Regions from separate parts of the Homo sapiens genome. Here region 2 is linked to region 1. Evidence: promoter capture Hi-C in 16 types of primary human blood cells and fetal thymus (Javierre and others, 2016). All regions are on one chromosome and are shown on one strand. The core of a region is centred on a gene start or on the middle of the fragment in contact, and the rest is flanking DNA. Distances in the headings are between cores, read along the strand shown.

Region 1 (3,321 bases), core at 806-3,305:
GGCAGTTAAACTATTTTGTGAGATTTTATAATGGTGAATACGTATCATTATGCATTTGTCAAAACCCATAGGATGTACAACACCAAGAGTGAACCCTAATGTAAACTATGGATTCTGGATGATACTGATGTGTCAATGTAGTTTCATCCATGGTAACAAATATAACACCTCGTTGCAGGATGTTGATGATGAGGGAGACTGGAGAGGGGAGCGGAGGTCCTAATAACCAAACCTATAACAGTCTATTGCTTTTGATCGAATCTTGATTTCAAGGAGCAGTTGGAGGACAACTGAGGAAGTGTGAATGTGTATTAGATGATAAAGAGGAACTTCTATTAATTGTGTTATGTTGATGACATATACTATGGTTATATAGAAAAGTATCCTGAAATTTTAGAGATGCCTATTTAAGTATTTAAAGGTGAAATATCCTGATATTGGTATTTACCTTAAAATATTTTTTAAAAAGTAAATACGGCAAAATTACTTAAAGTGTTAAGTCTGGGTGTTACAGACTGCATGTCTGCGTCCCCTCAAAGTTCATATATTGAACCCTAACCCCCAAGGGAATGGAATTAAAAGGTGGGCCTTTGGAGATGACTGGATTTAGATGAGGTCACAAGGGTAGAGCCTGCATGATGAACAGGGTGGGACCGTATCTCAAAAAAAAAAAGAGGAAGAGAAGTTTCTATTAGAGCTTGCTCTATCTGCTTTGTGAGGATAGAGGCAGTTTCGCAAACCAAGAAGAGGACCCTCACTAGAATCTGACCATGCCAGCACCTTGATCTTGAACTTCCCAGCCTCCAGAACTGTGAGAAATAAATTTCTGTCATTTAAACCACCCAGTCTACTGCACTTTATATGGCAGTCCAAGCAGACTAAGACATTAGATAATGCATATACAGGTATTCCTTAATAGAACTAAAGAGAGTAACTGTATCAATATTAGTATGAGTCCTACCTAAAATACCTCTTCCTTCACTTGCAGAAACACTGGATTAGATTATTCCAATTGCCTCAGTGTTCTTCCACCCTTACCCAATCCAGTCCAATCTCCGGAGAAAAATATGATCACATCACTAGCCTGCACAGCATTCAATCAACCACCTCTTTAATGGGGAAAAGTGTAAATTCCATAGTGTAGCCATATAAGGCTTTTCGAGATCTGCCCAGACTCCTTGAGCCACTCTATATATACTTCACTCATTTAAAACTCAGCGACAATCCTACAAGTAGGTGAAATTATTATTCCCTCTTTACAGATAAGTAAAGGGGAATATAAGTAAATAACTTGCCCAAGACCACACGGTTGGTAAGTGGCCCTGCTTGACTTTAAATTTTGACAGTCTGATATATCCATAAACCAGATAAATCCATAATTTTAACCACAATATTATTCTGTGCCCGGTACAGTGTAGGTGCTCAATAAATGCTTGCTAGATGAGTAGTGTGGAAGAGCTTAGCTCTCCTTTTTCACCTGATCCCAAAAGAGGAGTGAATCCTAACCACCCTGTTTCTCTTAAGAGTCAAGTCAAGTAAGAGCTGATGACTGTTACTGGCATTGCCCGGGCGTCTAGTATTGCAGTATCCCCGCCCCTGTGAGGGGTGCAAAACCTTTTCTGATTTCATTTCTTTGGTGGTGGGGATCGGACTGGGGAGGAATGAGGGGTCGCAGAACACAGGCTGCCCGCTGGGCCCGGGGGCTGCGGGGAGGGACGGCTCTCGTGCGCTGAGTAGTTGACTCGCCCACTGCAGACCTCAGAAGCCTCACGACCCGGACCCCGGGAGCCCCAGCCCCGCGCCCTCAGCCCCGCGTCCAGGACCTGATCCTGGATTGCCAGGGGCCCTCCTGGGAAGACGGGGCCACTCCGGGCCCACTCACCTCGTCCCGGCACTGCTTCTGGCACATCTGGCAATACCAGCGTAGCTTCTGCAGCCCCTTGGACTTGATCCTGTTGGCGATAGCCTTGGGAGTAAGAAAATCCGACTTCCCCATGGCGACCACGGCAGCGATCACTTTCTGGACCCCAGTACTCAGCCAGCCGGAAACGGAACCGGGCTGGCGGCGGTGGGCGGGACAAATCCCAGCTGAGAGGCGGAAGGAGGTGGGGCCTGGGAAGACTGGGTTGCAACGGTCGCGAGACTCCCCTCGCCGTAGCGCGAAGAAACGAGACTGAAGAAGAGAGCAAGGTGGGAGGGGCGCGCTGGGGAGCTTCGGCGCATGCGCGCTGAGGCCTGCCTGACCGACCTTCAGCAGGGCTGTGGCTACCATGTTCTCTCGCGCGGGTGTCGCTGGGCTGTCGGCCTGGACCTTGCAGCCGCAATGGTATGGCAGCTTGCGGGAAGATCGGCAGGACCGCAAGGGATGGAAGAGCTTGGGCACGGGGCAGGGAGGAGGAGATGGGCGCGGGGGCAGATGTGGGGTCGCAGGGCCTAGCTGGGCCCCTGGCCCGTCGGAGGCGCCGGGTAGCGGGGGCTGCAGGAAGCGGCTCTGAGGTCGGGCAAGGTGTGCGCAGGGCCGGGCTCCGGCGGAGCAAGGTCCCGCCCGGTTCCCTGAGGTCGGAGGGCCACCTGGGACCTCGGGACTGCGGCCTGAGTCCAAATTGACGTCTGGGCGGTCTTGAGTTCCCTCAGCTAATCAGCACTTCCTGAGCTTCCACTTCCACTGCAAGCCAGGCCCCCAGTCTCAGGGCCTGCAAGGTGACGGGAGCCTGAGCAATAGCCCAGGGGAAGGTTAAGTCGTGCTTTTTGTCCTTGACGCCCTTTGAAACCCTGTAGTGCTGGACAGAGTGACCCTTTAAGATTCGATCGAGTCAGAGAGCGCGGCCGTCGAGCACCTCCCGTGTTGCAGACGCTTTGCTGGGTGCTGCAACAGCAAAGGCGAACATCCTAGATGCCTCTGAGGGTGGTTTTGGTGCAGAAGGGACCGTACAGATCTGTCTGAGGGCGGGGAAGGGAAGGACACCTAGCACTACCTTGAAACCACTTGCTGAAACCGTAACCCTGCAAGGTCATGAAATTGCCCCCAGGTCCTGGGGGAGGAGTTCGGTGGGCTTTTAAGTGGCATTTGTTAACTGACATGCAACTAAAGGGTGCCACGAGCCTCGAGAATTTTAAACATTAGTTCCGGGTAGGGGGACCTGGGCTGGGGGAAGTGCATATTAGAAGGCCCGGGAATGGGCAGGTAAAAGTTGGTTTGTGGGTGGTGCTGTTCAGTTTTGAAGCTTGACGGAATCTGGAAGAATTCCAGACACGCTGCTAAGGGGATTCTAGGCTGTGTCGTAGCAATTCCCTGCTCTTAACAGTGTGGAGGATTTCTAA
Region 2 (3,419 bases), core at 270-2,769, 4.3 Mb after region 1:
TCTTTTCACTGGAATCCGATTAGCTGTTACAAATTAGTTTGCTGAATACAATTATATTCAGACTACCCTTAAAAGGAAACCATGCTTTAAAACCACCTTCCTAGCTCCCAAAATAGTGTCCTGTCACTTGAACTGTATATTTTATTTGGTATTCTAAATACATTCTGAACTTCCAAAAGAAAGTAAAACTAATTTACTAGAAGTACCAATGGAGTGTATTGGGGGGAAGAGGGCACAAAAGGGGGTGTTTCCCTTTTAAAGACATTCCCTTGCAAAGTACCATATGGATTATGTATGAAATCCCAATCAGAGTGCTCCGAAAACACTCCAGTATGAGAGAATGCGGTTTTACCTTTCAATTCTCTTATTCAAAATGCTGTCAGGACAGAACAGCACAGGAACACTATCTCCCAGTTTCTGACTTTATTTTTTAAAGAACATCCTTAGTATAAAGGACGTATTAAGAACTGTTAGAAATTGTACCAGCTCACAAATGAGGAGACTGACGATGTTAAGGAACACCTAAGAACTATGGAAATGAGATAAAGCGTCAGCGAGGGTTTCACTTTGATCTGATGCATCGTTTCGTGTCGTGTAAGTCCTCTAAGATGAGCAAGAGAGCTGAAGGTCCGATCACCCCAGCGTGGACCCAGCTGGCTCTGCTCTGCCAACCTGGGGACCAAATATCCTGTGATCACTTCCTTAGTCCAACAGTCCTAGCAAGAAGAGAGTGCTTGGCGCCTTGAAGAGGTGAAGGTAAAGTGAAGAATCAACCAGCCTATGTGATTAAAAGGAAGTCAACCAAACAGCCCATGCCCACCATCCCCAGATACACCCCAAGCCCCTTCCCCTACACATACCTCTCCTACAAACCCCTGCTCTGGTGGTGTAGGAACCTCTAAACCCACCACACTTCCCCGACACAACTCCCCTTCCCACAGGTATCCACGGTCACCTTCGCGGACCATCGCTGCCCCAACCCCAACTTCTCGCCCCACACTCCCTCGCCACAGAAGCCTTCCCGGCCGGTCTCCCCACTCCGCAGCCTCCCACACACGCGCCCTCCCCACTTTCTCGCCCTCGCTTCCCTCCCGGCTCTCGAGGAGCTTCCCCCGACCTCCCCTCGCTCTCCTCCACGCCCCCGAACACTTTCGCCCCTCCACCGCGGGCTCCCCGCCTCCAGTCTCGAGGCCCGGCCCAGGCATGTGGGGCAGGCACCTCCTCCACCGCCCCCCAAGCATGGCCCGGCCCGGGGGCTCCCGCGTTGATGGGAGCCTCGGAGACAGGGGGTCTGAGGAGAACGACGCCGGACCCGCGGTCCCTCCACTGCTCGCCGACCCCGGAGAGCTGGAGTGTGGAGTCGCCTCTGGGGTCCCCCAGGGAGTAGGAGTCTAGGCCGGTGCCCCCCAGCCCCATTTCCTCCCGATCGTTGGAGCGGAGGGGAAGGAGGATCCCCGGGACTCACCTCGAGCCTGTTGTCAACATTAGCCCCGGGTTTCCCAGCACCAACTCCAGCGCTCGGGCTCTCCCCTCCCCTCCCCCCACCTATCTCGCAGCCGAGGGCCCGCCTTCCCTCAGCTCCCCCTCCTCCCTCCGCCCGCCAGCCCTCCCGCCCGCCACTCACCAGCGCGGCCGGGCTGAGAGTGGGGGCGGGGCGGAAGGAGGCGAGAGGGAAAAGGCCATCCGCGCGACTGCCCGATTAAAAACAGTCCTGATCGTCTTCCCTGCGGCATGCCGATGCCCTCAGCTTGACTCTGGGGTGGCGGGTCCGGGGCAAAGGCTCATATGAGTGCCATTCACTTAACAGCTCTTTCAAATTCCCCAGTCGATGAGAAGAGCGAATTTTTCAGACTGGCAATACGTAAGGTAGCCACTACCAGCACCTCAAACCAGGGCCCCAGCGGAGGGGTGGAGTGTTCCGAGGACCCGAGGCAGGAAGTGGATTGGTCGCCAGGAAAGGGAAAGCGCCTGAATTGGAGCTGCGCAGGCGCAGGCGCTTCGCGGGGGATGGGGGTGGGAAGCGCGAATGGGGCGGGGCGGAGCTCACGGGAGGCGAGGAAGTGTGGTGGAATAGTGGGAGGGTTACGGAGCGCCATTAAGGACAAGCCCGGCCACGTGATTCTCCTGGGCGTTTCCTGGTGCGAACCTAAGGAAGAGGTCTAAGAAGAGAAAGTTTGATTGGACTAATTCGAGGGGAGACGTTGAAGATTTAGAAAATTGGAAACTGGAGAAACTAAACCATATGGCTGGTTTGGGAGGTGGGAGTCGCTTAGGAATGGGTCTAGTCTTAAGAATGCCCTAAAAGACATCGAAAGTCCTGCGGGGGGATTTCCAGAAGCACTTCTAGGTGTTCGACGTAAAAACCACCCAGGGCGAAGAAGAATCAAGGCTTTTTCCATACACTTCTTAGAAAGTACCTGGTTCTAGCAAGCAAACTTTTAAAAATTACAGTGGCAAGACTTCCCTGAGTTATCAAATCACCCATTTTAAAAAAAAAATGGCTAGCGTCGACATTTCTTCTGAATGCGAACCCAGGCCGACTTTCAAAAATGGGTATCAGTTTATCCACACTGCTTATTTCCTCCTGAATTGCTGAAATGGTGCATCTGGCCTCGAAACAGTACTGGGTTCTGCCAACATGATCCGAGTAGGTGGCTCTGGCTGGTCCGGAGCTAGAGGAACAAGGGTGCGAAACTGGTCTTGACGTTTGCTTGACTTGAGGGGGCCCCACCTGGTGCCCAAGCCCACGTAATGAACTACTACCAACCACAAATACTTGAGGCAAGTCCAGGTTCCCTATGACTCAACCTTTGCCCATTTGCCTCTATTTACTGTTTGCTTCCCCATTTACTCTTAGCACGCAAATTATCCTCTCATACTGAGTGTTGCTGCTTCCTGTATTTAAAAATATATATTTTTTATACACTACACATAGGTCAGTCATTTAAAGGATAGTGAAAGAGAAAGATGAAGGCCGGGCACGGTGGCTCACGCCTGTAATCCCAGCACTTTGGGAAGCCGAGGCGGGCGGATCACAAGGTCAGGAGTTCGAGACCATCCTGCCTAACACGGTGAAACCCCGTCTCTACTAAAAATACAAAAAAAATTAGCCGGCCGTGGTGGCACGTGCCTGTAGTTCCAGCTACTCCGGAGGCTGAAGCAGGAGAATGGCGTGAACCGGGAAGGCAGAGCTTGCAGTGAGCCGAGTTTGCGCCACTGCACTCCAGCCTGGGCGACAGAGGGAGACTCCGTCTCAAAAAAAAAAAAGAGAAAGATGAATACTGCTATTCTGCAGCATTGATAAACAATTATGAGAACTGCCCCAAATACCATATTGGTGATAGCCACCCACGCTTCTCTTCAAGGTTTCCTTTTCCCATTTCATGGGATTACCTTAAGAAGCTTTACTTCTGGCTGGT

What was found. Contacts are between HindIII fragments. The CHiCAGO score rates a contact against its expected background, and 5 or more counts as called.
Region 2: a contact is called between the fragment with the promoter of UPF2 here and the fragment with the promoter of KIN in region 1, in 1 of 17 cell types (monocytes). The highest score is 5.9, in monocytes.

What each region holds. Positions count from the first base shown.
Region 1 is chr10:7,785,938-7,789,258 of GRCh38, forward strand. KIN (Kin17 DNA and RNA binding protein) reads right to left here and starts at 2,056. Exons shown (of 13, transcript NM_012311.4): 1 at 1,883-2,056. The coding sequence starts at 1,996. It overlaps ATP5F1C (ATP synthase F1 subunit gamma), which reads left to right and starts at 2,240. Exons shown (of 10, transcript NM_001001973.3): 1 at 2,240-2,326. The coding sequence starts at 2,271. RefSeq lists enhancers at 2,009-2,328, 2,781-3,321. The HindIII fragment of the contact is 3,793 bases long and covers 1-3,222 here.
Region 2 is chr10:12,041,290-12,044,708 of GRCh38, forward strand. UPF2 (UPF2 regulator of nonsense mediated mRNA decay) reads right to left here and starts at 1,520. Exons shown (of 22, transcript NM_015542.4): 1 at 1,466-1,520. LOC105376416 (a long non-coding RNA gene) reads right to left here. Exons shown (of 3, transcript XR_930666.2): 3 at 2,510-2,672. RefSeq lists enhancers at 428-517, 1,688-1,937 and silencers at 1,038-1,087, 1,108-1,247. The HindIII fragment of the contact is 3,508 bases long and covers 1-3,400 here.